4 separate regions of the Homo sapiens genome follow, and regions 1, 2 and 3 are each linked to region 4. Evidence: promoter capture Hi-C in 16 types of primary human blood cells and fetal thymus (Javierre and others, 2016). All regions are on one chromosome and are shown on one strand. Each heading gives the region's core, a stretch centred on a gene start or on the middle of the fragment in contact. The rest is flanking DNA. Distances are from core to core; before and after follow the strand shown. Region 1 holds the start of SLC16A8 (solute carrier family 16 member 8). Region 2 has its middle 4.4 kb from the start of POLR2F-AS1. Region 3 overlaps BAIAP2L2 (BAR/IMD domain containing adaptor protein 2 like 2). Region 4 holds the start of KCNJ4 (potassium inwardly rectifying channel subfamily J member 4).

The links. Contacts are between HindIII fragments. The CHiCAGO score rates a contact against its expected background, and 5 or more counts as called.
Region 1: the fragment with the promoter of SLC16A8 here is called in contact with the fragment with the promoter of KCNJ4 in region 4 in 13 of 17 cell types (erythroblasts, monocytes, naive B cells and 10 more); the score reaches 10.6 in erythroblasts.
Region 2: a fragment that was not itself captured here is called in contact with the fragment with the promoter of KCNJ4 in region 4 in 3 of 17 cell types (erythroblasts, M1 macrophages and endothelial precursors); the score reaches 6.8 in erythroblasts.
Region 3: a fragment that was not itself captured here is called in contact with the fragment with the promoter of KCNJ4 in region 4 in 1 of 17 cell types (erythroblasts); the score reaches 5.0 in erythroblasts.

The regions. Positions count from the first base shown.
Region 1 is chr22:38,082,577-38,085,544 of GRCh38, reverse strand. It overlaps SLC16A8 (solute carrier family 16 member 8), which reads left to right and starts at 1,361. Exons shown (of 6, transcript NM_013356.3): 1 at 1,361-1,557; 2 at 2,184-2,503; 3 at 2,664-2,885. The coding sequence starts at 2,672. BAIAP2L2 (BAR/IMD domain containing adaptor protein 2 like 2) reads left to right here. Exons shown (of 14, transcript NM_025045.6): 14 at 170-645. The coding sequence ends at 245. RefSeq lists an enhancer at 1,096-1,877 and a silencer at 2,853-2,902. The HindIII fragment of the contact is 1,274 bases long and covers 200-1,473 here.
Region 2 is chr22:38,028,346-38,031,346 of GRCh38, reverse strand. It overlaps a transcript of POLR2F not described here. Among named protein-coding and RNA genes, the nearest start is that of POLR2F-AS1, 4.4 kb to the left of the region's middle. RefSeq lists enhancers at 1-325, 2,420-2,920. The HindIII fragment of the contact is 1,038 bases long and covers 945-1,982 here.
Region 3 is chr22:38,100,939-38,103,891 of GRCh38, reverse strand. The region is part of intron 4 of BAIAP2L2 (BAR/IMD domain containing adaptor protein 2 like 2); the gene reads left to right. Among named protein-coding and RNA genes, the nearest start is that of BAIAP2L2, 8.3 kb to the left of the region's middle. The HindIII fragment of the contact is 3,305 bases long and covers 12-2,953 here.
Region 4 is chr22:38,453,759-38,456,780 of GRCh38, reverse strand. KCNJ4 (potassium inwardly rectifying channel subfamily J member 4) reads left to right here and starts at 1,582. Exons shown (of 2, transcript NM_152868.3): 1 at 1,582-1,801. The HindIII fragment of the contact is 17,538 bases long and covers 1-3,022 here.

The DNA.
Region 1 (2,968 bases), core at 112-2,611, 370 kb after region 4:
AGACCCTATCTCTTAAAAGAAAAAAAAAGATGAAGCGGGGCAAGGAGTGGATGGAGACCAAATAGGGGCAGGAGGCAGGACCCAGCTCAGTTGCCCAGCTGCCTTCCTGAGCCATGGCCAGGTGGGGATCATCTGCCCTTCTCACCCCATTCTCTCTCTCCTCCTACAGGGGCACAAATCCTTTTGCCACTGTCAAGCTTCGTCCCACCATCACCAATGACCGCTCAGCACCCCTCATCCGCTGAGGCGGGGTCCGAGGTCGTACCCCACAGTGCACCTGCCCAGGGGCTGTTCAGAGCTGGCAATGGCAGCGACAGCAGCAACAGCAGCAGATCCAAGAAGCGGGTCCCTGAGACGGGGGGTGGCTGCCCTCCCCAGACCACCCCGGCAGCCTGAGCAGCTCCAAAGCACTGGCTTGGGGTCCGAGACCTTCAAAGTAAAGCAGGCGGAATGGGGGGACAGGACAATTTCTCCCCCTCCAGGGGCTCCAGGACTCTCCCTGGGGGGCCCACCTCTTGCCCCCTAACCTCTTTCCCCCTTTTCTGCCCCCGTGGGGAGGAGCCCCTTGTACCTGCTCCGTGCCCAACACATGCCCTCTCTGTACATCTTTTGTAAATGATGAGAAATAAAGGAAGTGGACGCAAAGTGATGCGGCAGCAGGACTGGTGGTGTCTTATTTGGGGGACAGGGCAGGGGGTGAGGGATAGAGACTCCCCCATTGGAGAATGGGGTCTAGGGGGTACTGAGGTCCTGGCTGTTCCCCGGGAAGCCATCTCACTCCCAGCCCCTTGTTTGTTTGTTTGGAGAACTCTTTAGGGCTGCCCCAAAGCCCTCGCGCTGCAGCCCCCATCTCCACCTGCTCTCATTTCGACCTGTGGGTTTCCTAGGAAGTAGCGGCTGCTCGGGTCAGGGGAGAGGTGGCAGTGGCCAAGGGCTGGGACCACCAGCAAGCTGCCCTCAGGCGGCCTGGACACAGCACCCTTTGTTTTGGCCCCTCCCCCCCCCACATTCCCAGGCACAGGCGTGGATTAGCTTCATTCTAGAGAAAGCTGCCAGCCCCTCCTGGAATGTGGCCTGGGGCGGGGGGTTGGGGCGGGGGCAGATGAGGCACTGAGGTGATTAGAACCGTTGGGGTCTCTTCAGGGCAGGGCTGTGCCCCCAGCACCAGACTAGGACCCCCTGGGCAAGGTCTCTGTGTCTACCACCCCAGGCTCCAGGAGGCACAGGGATTCTCTTCCTCCCTCCTGGACTGGCTTGGGACAGGGAGCCCACCGCCGAGGCCCAGCCTGGCCTGGGGCTCCCAGTCTCTTCTCCCCTCCTGGACAAAAGCCTCTTAGCAGGGGTGAGGTGTGGTGGGGGCACACACTCTAAGCTCCAGGCCTGGGGCAGGGAGCGTCAGGCGGGAGTCGGCCAGAGGCTCAGCCCAGGCTGGTGGGAAGCTGGGGTGTCTGGCAGCCCCCATCCGGGTAAGCTTCACCGGGAGCTGCGGCGGCGGCCCCTCCCTGCAGGCCTCAGGAGATGTGAGGCTGGACCCCCAAACCCACGAGGCAGGCTCAGGTGAGTGTGATGTGAGGGCTGCCTGGGATCACCCTCCTGTCTCCACCTTCAAGTGGCTGCCCCTGTGACAAGAGGACAACAGGCAGGAAAAGCCACAACCTGGTCCTAGTGGAGGAGGGGCAGAGTCCCGGATACCCTGGGGGTGGTGGCACTGCCCAGTGCCAGGAGGGACACTCCAGGCAGGAGGGCAGGAGGCTATCCCCAGCCCCCGGCTCCTGGTGCACCTGTCTCTGAGTACACCCTCCTCATCTGTTATGGGGGCGCTTGTAACTGCTGTGAGGGCCCCGGGTGGAGCCCCAGGAATGAGACAGGCTTTGGAGCCATTCTTTTCATATAGAGGGTTTGAGGTTTGGAGGGCAGAAGGCCACTCTCTCAGTGCTGCTAAGGTTCCTACCTGTCTGGCAGAAGCCAGAGACCTGACTCCTCTCCCGCAAGATTCCCAGCTGGCCTCGGGGTGATCAATCACCCATCTTACATCGGAGGAAAGGGAGGTTGGGAGAGGGGAGGCGACCGGCCCAAGTCAGGGAGGGAATCCATGGCTGAGCTGAGATGCATGGGAACTCAGCTCCCCTGGCTGATATCTGTTGAAAGTGGCTTTTGTCCCCTTAATGTTCTAATGACAATAGTCATTTGTGATCACTGAGAAACATTAGGAACATGGCGGAAGGCTAAAGAGGAAAATCACGCACAGCGGCCCTTTGCAGCCGGCATCTGCCCCTCTGCTGTTTGTTCTGTTGTCCCGAGACCCTCACGCGTACGGGGCGACTTTGGTGCTGGACGCCCACCTCCAGGCACATACCTGCTCCACTTCCCGACGCCTTCCACCTGAGGCCCTGAGGGGCCAGCAGTTGTCCTTCAGAGGGAGCCTGCAGAGGTGCAGAGTCAGGTGGGACCCGTCGTCCTCCCCTCGTCCTTCAGCGCCCTTTGCAGGAGAAGGAGACTTGGGGTGAGAGTCCTACCTCCGTTTCCCCTTTTGGTTCCCAGACCTGAGCCACCCTCACGTGGGTAGCCCTGTGCCTCAGTTTCCCCATGCTTCGTCTCCATCCCCCTCCTTCTCTAGGCTGCTGGCCCAGCCCCTCCCTCTTGTCCCCGCCCCCTCCCAACAGAGGCAGCGATGGGCGCTGGCGGCCCCCGGCGGGGCGAGGGCCCCCCAGACGGCGGCTGGGGCTGGGTGGTGCTGGGCGCCTGCTTTGTGGTCACCGGCTTCGCCTACGGCTTCCCCAAAGCCGTGAGCGTCTTCTTCCGCGCGCTCATGCGCGACTTCGACGCCGGCTACAGCGACACGGCCTGGGTGTCCTCCATCATGCTAGCCATGCTCTACGGCACGGGTCAGTGTCCCCGCCCGGCCCTCCGCCTCCCCGGGACCCCTGGGATCCGGAACCAGGAGACACCCGAGCCCCTGAGCATCCCC
Region 2 (3,001 bases), core at 214-2,713, 430 kb after region 4:
AGGGCATCCTTGTTGTCAGAAGTAGGCTCCTCCGTGCCAAGAACATCTCATTTAATCCTTGCAACCATCCTGCAGGCTCTGTGGTATTACTGTCCGCATTTTACAGATGAGTTTGAAAAAGATGAAGCAGATTGTCCAGGGCCCTGCAGATGGAATGACACCCAAACTCTCGCTCTTAACCCCTGCGTCTTGGAAGAGGTGTGCTGGAGCTGAGGCCTGACAGAGTAGTAGGAGTTTCCCAAGGGACAAGGAGGGAGGGGGCGACACCGACACTTGCCAAGACCCGTCTTTCCATTGGCAGGGTCTGAAGTGCTGGTGGTCTGTAGCCTGCTTCCTTACCTCTTGCCCAGGGCCTCTCACAGCTCTTCCAGCCCTCGTCCTGTCCCAGGGCCCCTCATTTCACAGACCCTGCCTTTCCCACCCCCTACTGGTGACAGCCGACTGATCTGATGGATTTGTCCAGCAACTGAGCTGGGGGTGGGGTGGGAGAGGGCCTGTTCCTGATCCCCGGGGAACCACTGACCACGCTCCCCAGGCCTTCCCAGCACAACCCTGCCCCCACCCACACCTCCCCACTGCATGACCTCTTCTTATCCCGGGAGTGACCCTGCAAAGCAAGTCATCCCAGAGAAGTGAGGATGTGCCTGAATCACCCAGTGCATAAGCAGCTGAGCTAAGTCTCAGACCCACAGGCCTGGGGTCTCAGACCATGGCGGTCCCCTGGGCTTGGACAAACCACAGAGTACTTTTCTATCCTCGGGCTCCGGTTTGCAGGGCACCATGGGAATGATCGGGGAGAAGGAGGGTTGAGCACTAGCAGTCTTGGGCAAATACAGTTTATAACCCAGGGTGTGGCAGTGCGCTGGAGTCAGCGCACACTGGCTCCCGAGAGCCAACTGTGAAAGTCTCTGGAATCGAAGCCAGTTGATATTACCTTGGAAGCTTTGAGCCTGCCCTGATGGGACTTTTTCCACTATGAAAATTGGCAGTCTACCTCTGTGTCTCCCACCTCCACAAACAGAGCTGGTTGTGAAGCATATTTACCAGCACATGACTGTCCAGAGGGCCCGACTCCTGGCTCCCCAGGGGGCTTGTGGGTTCTCTCAAGCTCCCAGCCCTATCTGGGGATCTTCGGGGAGTCGTTCTTGCTCAAAATCCATTGATATCTCCCACTTGCCACCAATAAAAGTCCAGACTCCTCCCCTGGGTTTTCCATCCCCAGCTTCAGGCCCAGGCAATCTTCCCAGCTGCATCTTAACTGTTCCCTTGCTGCCCCCACGCTTGAGCCAAACAAGAACAGATGATGCTTGTGGAAAAGGCCCTTGCTTCCTTAGTTTCCTGCTGCTGCAACAGCCTCACCTTGGCTCACGCTATTCCCTTTTCCCAAAATGCCTTTCCCCTAACTCTGCCTCTTGAAATCATCTCCAGCCTGCAAGGCTCATTCACAATTGGTGTTCAATCAATGTTTCTTGGCTGAATGGGAGGGAGCGTGGACGAAGGCTCCACAACCAGGACTGACCTGATGGTGCCTTGGTGAAGGCTAAGACCCTGGGAAACCCTGCATCCAATCCTCTGCCTCAGGACAGAGACACCCCAAAATCCCCTGCCTTCCCTAGCTTGCTTGCAGTCTCCCAGATGATGGGGTGTTAATGGAGGACAGACTGGTCACTGCTTCACAGGTAGCAAAAACAGAAACCAACTTGAACCATCCAGGTTACCTGGAAACCAATCCCTTCATTCTGTGGTCAGTCTCAAACTCCTCTGCATCCTTCAAAACCCATCCCAGGTGCTGCCTCCATTGAGAGGTCTTGCCAGTTAGAAGTCCTCCATTACCCCCTTGCCCCTGTGCCCTGCACACACTGATCATTGCACTCATGGCACAGGGTAGTGCTTATCTGTCTGTCCATCACCCCACTAGACCATAGCCAGAGGAGACAGAGCCTTATTTAAGGCTTTATCCTCAGGCTGGTGCCCAACAAGCTTAGGAGGTGCTTGTTGAACTAACTTGAAATGACTCCATCACTGTCAGCCAAGTCATCCTCCACTATCCTTGGGCCTCAGTTTTCCCCTCTGGATAAGCCAGACTTAGACGGGGTCATTTCCAAAGACATTCTGCATCTCCTATTCTGGGATTCTGTGATATGCCCCACTCCTTATCCATCTCTAATCTTCAAGTCTCCTTCCCTAAGCTGCAAGCCTTCCAGTGGGTGACGCCCCTTCCTCGGCTGCCTTCACCAGCACCACCTCACCCTGCAGACCACAGCAGTCTCTCCTCAGACCCCTGAACTCCCTTTTTCAGGGTGTTCTCTTCTCTCAGACTGTGGACTCCTCTGAAACCCTTTCAGAAGCCTCTCCTGCCCACTCCAGGCCTGGCTCACCAGCCAAGTGCACAGTCAGCACCCATAAGTGCCCATCAATGAGCTGTGATGGAGTGGCCGGGGCTTGCAGGGCCTTTGGAGAGCTGGCAGAGTTCCTGTTCAGACAGGCCTGGGAGCTGCCTGCCTATCACAGTGCGGGTGGAGGGTCCCCTAAAGCCCCCAGGACAAACAGCCACATCCCATTCTCTGCCTATTTCACTCAGACCTTCAGAGGGTGTGTGTGCAGGAGCGGGACAGGCTGTTGCTGCTGCCCCTTCCTCCCCATCCCACAGAGGGACACAGTGGCTATGTGGCCGCTGTCCTCTCCCCAATTTCTGCTTTCTTCTCTATCTCCCAAGCACACCCAGAGACATGCACGTGCATACACATAGGCACACACATACACACATTCATGCACACACGTATGCACACACATACATGCACACACGTATGCGCACACACACATGCACACACACGTACGCACACGCACACACACACACGCACACACAGATGCATGCGCAGGCACAGAGGGTCATGAGCCCCCGTATCAGTCACCCTGCACTGACATTTGGAGCACAGGGAGTTGTCCATGTGCCATCCAGGTGTGTTGACCCCAGGGAAGACCATGTGGGGCTGTGAGAAGG
Region 3 (2,953 bases), core at 415-2,914, 350 kb after region 4:
CAGTGGAAGCTTCTTTTTTTTTTTTTTTTGACATGGAGTCTCACCCTGTCACCGAGGCTGGAGTACAGTGATGCAATCTCGGCTCACTGCAACGTCCGCCTCCCAGGTTCAAGCAATTCTCCAGCCTCAGCCTCCCATGTAGCTGGGACTACAGGTATGCAACACTGCATCTAGCTAATGTTCATATTTTTAGTAGAGACGGGGTTTCACCTTGTTGGCCAGGCTGATCTCGAACTCCTAACCTCAGATGATCTGCCCAGTTTAGCCTCCCAAAGTTCTGGGATTATAGGTGTGAGCCACTGCACCTGGCCATTGGAAGCCTCTTTAATCTGCCTCCTGAGTCCTTGCTATCTGCCTGACAAGAGGTTCCAGGCTTATCTGCTACTTGTGCTGTGTGAGACATGGAATGAGCCATTTCTTCATGAAGCCCTGTTTTTACTTTTTGTTTTTAGTGCAAGTGGTATTTCAAAGCCATAATCTGAATACTAGTGGTGCTCATTGCCACTGGCTTGATCTTTGTTTCTAGGCTTTTTTGGTGGCTGTGCAACGCATAGATGGATACATATTTATATGCAATGTGTGTGTACACACATATAACACATATTCTCTCGCTCTGTCTCTTTATTTCTATTGCTGCTGGACAAATTCATCTTATTTATTTATTTATTTATTTTCAGAGGCAGAGTCTCACTCTGTCACCCAGGCTGAAGTGCAGTGGTACAATCATAGCTCATTGCAGTCTCCAACTCCTGGGCTCAAATGATCTTCCTGCCTCAGCCTCCCAAGTAGCTGGGACTATAAGAAAATGCCACCGTGCCTGGCTAATTTTTTTTTTTTTTTAATTTTGAGATGGAGTGTCACTCTGTCTCCCAGGCTGGAGTGCAGTGGTGTGATATCGGCTCACTGCAAGCTCCGCCTCCCAGGTTCACGCCATTCTCCTGCCTCAGCCTCCCGAGTAGCTGGGACCACAGGCGCCTGCCACCATGCCGGGCTAATTTTTTTTTTTTGGTATGTTTAGTAGAGACGGGATTTCACCGTGTTAGCCAGGATGGTCTTGATATCCTGACCTCGTGATCCACCCGCCTTGGTCTCCCAGAGTGCTGGGATTACAGGTGTGAGCCACCGCACCCGGCCGTGCCTGGATAATTTTTAAACTCTTTTTATAGAGATGAGGTCTCACTATGTTGCCCAGGCTGGTCTTGAACTCCTGGCCTCAAGCAGTCCTCCCATCTGGGCCTCCCAAAGTGCTAGGATCACTTTTAGACCATTGATTCATTTTCTTCTGTTTCATGGGCCTTTCTGGTGTGTTTTGGTTGTCAGTAGGAATGTTATTCTCTTCCATATTCTCTTTTTTCTAATAATAACTTTCTATTGGATTTCACCTCAGAGATTGTCTGTGGAAAAGTAGGTTTTTTCCTGAAATTGTAAAAGGAGCACAGTCAAGACAGCTCTTCTCACTTTGCAAGATCTCTTTCTGTTGTTCTTATGTAGTTTTCCAAAAATATGGCAGCTCCCTTTCTGCAATTTCCTGGTTCCGTTCATGCTCCTACTTTTGTTAGACTTTCTCTTTCCTTTTGTGTCTGTTGTCCTTGTTCCTGATTTTGATCCTCCTCACGGCATTCTCTCCTCCACATGGGCCCTGTCTGGATGGGAGCCTGGCTGGTCAGTTTCAAGACTTCCTAGAGGCTCGACTACTCCAGCCCCTTCAGACTTTACCAGGGACCTCTTACCTTCACCCTTTGGACTCACAAACTCCTTGGAGTTTCAGCTGCTGTTCACAGACTGGCCTACTGAGCTTCCCATGACCATCTGCTGGCCATGTCGGGGTGCACCTGTGCTCAGGTCCCTCAACGCCCAGCTACCTCCCACTGCTCCATCCACATGGATGCTGGTCACACTGACCTCACAGCCGGTGCTGATTTTTGTTTGGAGGGTTGTAGAGATATACTGTCATAGTTTTGTTCTGAATGTTGTCTTGAGTTTATTTTTTTCTTTTGGTGGTTTTGTTTGTTTTGTTTTGTTTGTTTGTTTGTTTTTTGAGACGGAATCTTGCTCTGTCACCCAGGCTGGAGTGCAATGGCGCCATCTCAGCTCACTGCAACCTCTGCCTCCCGGGTTCAAGCGATTCTCCTGCCTCAGCCTCCCAAATAGCTGGGATTATAGGCGCGTGCCACCATGCTCGGCTAATTTATGTACTTTTAGTAGAGATGGGGTTTCACTATGTTGGCCAGGCTGGTCTCAAACTCCTGACCTCAGGTGATCCACACACCTTGGCCTTCCAAAGTGCTGTGATTACAGGCATGAGCCACTGTGCCTGGACTTTTTTTTTTTTTTTTTTTTTTTTTGAGACAGGATCTCACTGTGTCACCCAGGCTGGAGTACAGTGGTGCAGTCACAGCTCATTGCAGCCTAGACTTCCTGGGCTCGGGCAATCCTCTCACCTCAGCCTCCCAAGTAGCTAGGACCACAGGCATGAACCACCACGTCTGGCTTTTTTTTTTTTTTTTTTTTTTTTTTTTTATGTAGAGACAGCATCTTACTATGTTGCCCAGGCTGGTCTGGAACTCTTGGGCTCGAGCAATCCTCCCACCTCAGCCTCCCAAAGTGCTGGAATTACAGGTGTGAGCCACTGTGCCTGGCTAGTCTTAAGTTTTTTATTTTGCTGTCTGGTTTCTCCATTCATTTTTAGGAGAAGATGAAGGAAGGTTTTGAAACTACATTTTATTTCCACCATCATCCCAGACCTGAGTTTTTTTTTCTACTGAGGTAAAGTTTACATACAATAAGATGAAGTTCCTAAATATGTTGAGTGTTAAGTTCAACAGATTTTGACAATTGTATGCCCTGTGTGGCCACCATGTTAAACAGGATTTATTTAGAACGTTTCCATCAACCCAGAAAGTTCTCTTATGTCCCTTTTGTCAGTGTCGCCCCCTAGGGGCAAAGGCTTTCT
Region 4 (3,022 bases), core at 333-2,832:
TCGGTCTCTCCCTCTCTGTAATGGGGCTAGTCGGTGATGGCCAGACTCCCAGGGAAGTTTTGCTGGCTGTCTAACTGCAGGTGTTCTCTCGTCCTACCACCCTGGAAGGAGGAGCACTTTCCCTCCTGTCTCCTCGGAGGGCTAGAGTGACGTGGCAGGATGGTCAGGATGTAGCTGGCTAGACAGGTGCTGTGGGTGCTGGGGGTTCCCTGACACCCCAGAGTGTGGGGCCCAGGCCTGACAGCTTGGGGTAATGGAGAGCGACAGAGAATAAGAGACTAGGGTTTGGCCTGGCTTTGTCATCTCTGGGTGACCTTGGCCGAGTTTCTGACCCTCTCTGGTACCCAGTCTCGCCATCTGTAAAATGGGGCAGTGGTGACTGAGTGATCGCGAGGGTCCCTCCAATAGGGCCCCCTCAGACTCCCAGAGTGAGGTGCTTCGGGTCCTTGACCGGCGGTACTTTGGGAGAGTACGAGGACCGCTAAGGAGAGGGGCGGACTCCGTGGGACCCCAGAGGGACCAGCTCCCACCCACCCCCCTTCCCGGCTCGGAGGAACCCTCTCCACCTGCCCCCTTTTGGGGGGGGGGCACAAAACCCGGGAGCGGATCCAGGAACGGGTTCTGGGAGGAGCGCTCCTGGGGCGAGGAGGAAAACCCGGGCAGGATCCAGGGCAGGAGCGGGGCCAGCAGCCCCCCGCCCCAGCCCCTGCTCCGCGCCGCGGGCCCCGCGGGAGGGGGCTTGAGGCCGGGTTAGGCCGAGGGGCGGGCAGGGCGGGGTCCCGCGGGCAGCCGGGGCTCCCGGGCTGGGGGGCGCGCGGCCTCCGCAGTGGGGCGCGGGTCACGTGTGAGGAGGGGCGAAAGTCTCGCAAAGCGGGGCGGCGTGCCGCGAGTTGGGAGTTCTCGGCGCGCCGCGGGCGGCGGGAGCTCGGGCTCCCGGGCGAGCCGGGGACGCGGCCAAGGCGGGGGCCGGGGTCCGAGACAGAGGGGGCCGCACGGAGAGTGGGAGGGGGAGAGACAGAGAAGGACAGGGGCCGCGAGGGAGACGGACAGAGACGCGCAGGGGAGAGAGGCAGCGCGGGCAGAGGGAGGCGGGGGGAGGCCGGCGGGCGACCGCGACGGAGACGGAGACCCCGCGGGCAGAGGGCGAGCGGGGCCGCAGGAGGCAGGGAGGCCGGGAGAGGGACCGGGACGCGAGCGCGGCGGAGACCCCGGCGGCAGGAGAGAGACGCGAGAGCGGTCGGGGAGGTGGCGACAGAGCCCGGCCGGCGGGGGCGGGGAGGGCGACCCCAGGCCGGGAGGCCGAGGGGTCGCGGGGCCGGGGCCGAGCGCAGCGGGGCCGGGAGTGGAGCGCAGGGCCGGGGGCAGAGCGCGCGAGCAGGAGCGGGTGACAGCGAGGGAGCTGGGCGCAGCGGGGGACGGCGGCGGGGAGGGCGCCTGCAGCGGGGGTGGGGGGCGCGGGCGGCGGGGCGCCCCGGGCCCCCGGACCCCCGCGCTGTGAGCCCGGCCGGGCCCGACGATGCTGACGCCGAGGCGGCGCCGAGGGCGCGGCGCGGGGCAGCGCTGAAAGTTGGGCGGCCCGCGGGGAGCGGCGCGGGACGGCCGGGACGCGCGGAGACCCCAAGACCCACGCGCAGACCGAGCGGCAGCCGGGGAGGGGAGCGCGGGCCGGCCGGCCGAGTTCGCGGGCAGGGGGCGCCGGGACTCCCCTTTCCGCGCCCGGGACGCCGCCCGCCGGATCGCGCCTTGGGATGTAGCGCCCGCTCGCCGCCTCCCGGACTCTCGTCGGACCCTCCGCCCAGCGGTAAGCCGCGCTCGCCCACCCCGGGCGCTGTCCGTCAGTTTGTCCCGCCGCGTGCGTGTCTGTGTGTCCCGGGCCCGCCGCTCCGGCCCCGCCCGCTCCGCACCTGATCCGGAGCCGGGTCCCGGCTGCCCGGCGCCGCGCGCGCGGTCCCGTGACTCCCCGGGAGCGGGCGGGCTCCACGGGCGGGCTCTGTCCGTCTGTCCGTCTGGGAGCGTCGCGGTCTGGGTTGTGGCCTGGAAAGGGGGAGAGAGGTGGGTGGAAGGGGTCTTGACCTCCTGCCCCAGCCATGACCTTTCCCTGCCTCCACCCACCCCAGTTGTCATGCCGGGGAGCTTCAAGGCAGGTGACTTGTGGCAAGGTGGGGGATGCCGCCTTTCCGCCTCCCCAGCTGCATCCTCGTTGCAAATGGCCCTGTGATCTGAAGAACGAAATCTCACTTCTCATGTTTTGAGCACCTACTTGGCGCCACACGACCCCAGGGCGCAGGGGCAGGGATTGGTAGAGGAGGCACTGCACGTTCACAGTGATAGACACAGGCTGGGGAGGGAGGCAGAGGCTGCTTTTTCCTCCGTGTGTAGGGAGCACCCCAAGGCAAGAGAGGTCTCAATGAGCCTCCCGCAGGGAGAACTTCCCCTGCAACCTGCCAAATGTCCCCCCACCAGTGTCAGCCTCCCTGCCCCCTACCCACATTTCTGCCCCCAGTGTCCCTGCTTCAGGATGGACAGGATGCAGGGAGTTGGGAGGTGGCAAGCTGGGTGGGGTGGAGCGGCGGGCTAGAGGCAGGGCAGCCTGGCCAGCTGACAGAGCAGGGCCTCAAGAGCAGTAGAATGTTCAGCAGCAGGTTTGGGGGAAGTGGGGAACTCAGGGAGGGAGGCCCAGAGAAGGGTTGGAGCCGTGTGTGTGTGTGTTCTCCCCCACATCCAGTCCCATGACCTCCATGGCTTCAGGCCTTTTGGGGGCAGTTAGCAGGACTTTAGGGGCCCAAGAGCCTCACTGTGGCCCTGGCTTGGCCTGTGCTGAGGGGAGCAAAAGGTGGACCAGGGCAGCTGGGGTAAGAGATGGGTGCAGCATGGTGGGAACAGAGACTGTTGGCCACTGAACTGACCCATATCCCAACTGGAGTTGGAAGGGCTGAGCCTAGAACATTCCACTCCATTCTCACTGGGAGGAGGGACTCTTTCTGGGGTGTTCCACACTGGGCAGTGGGTCTCATATGTCCTC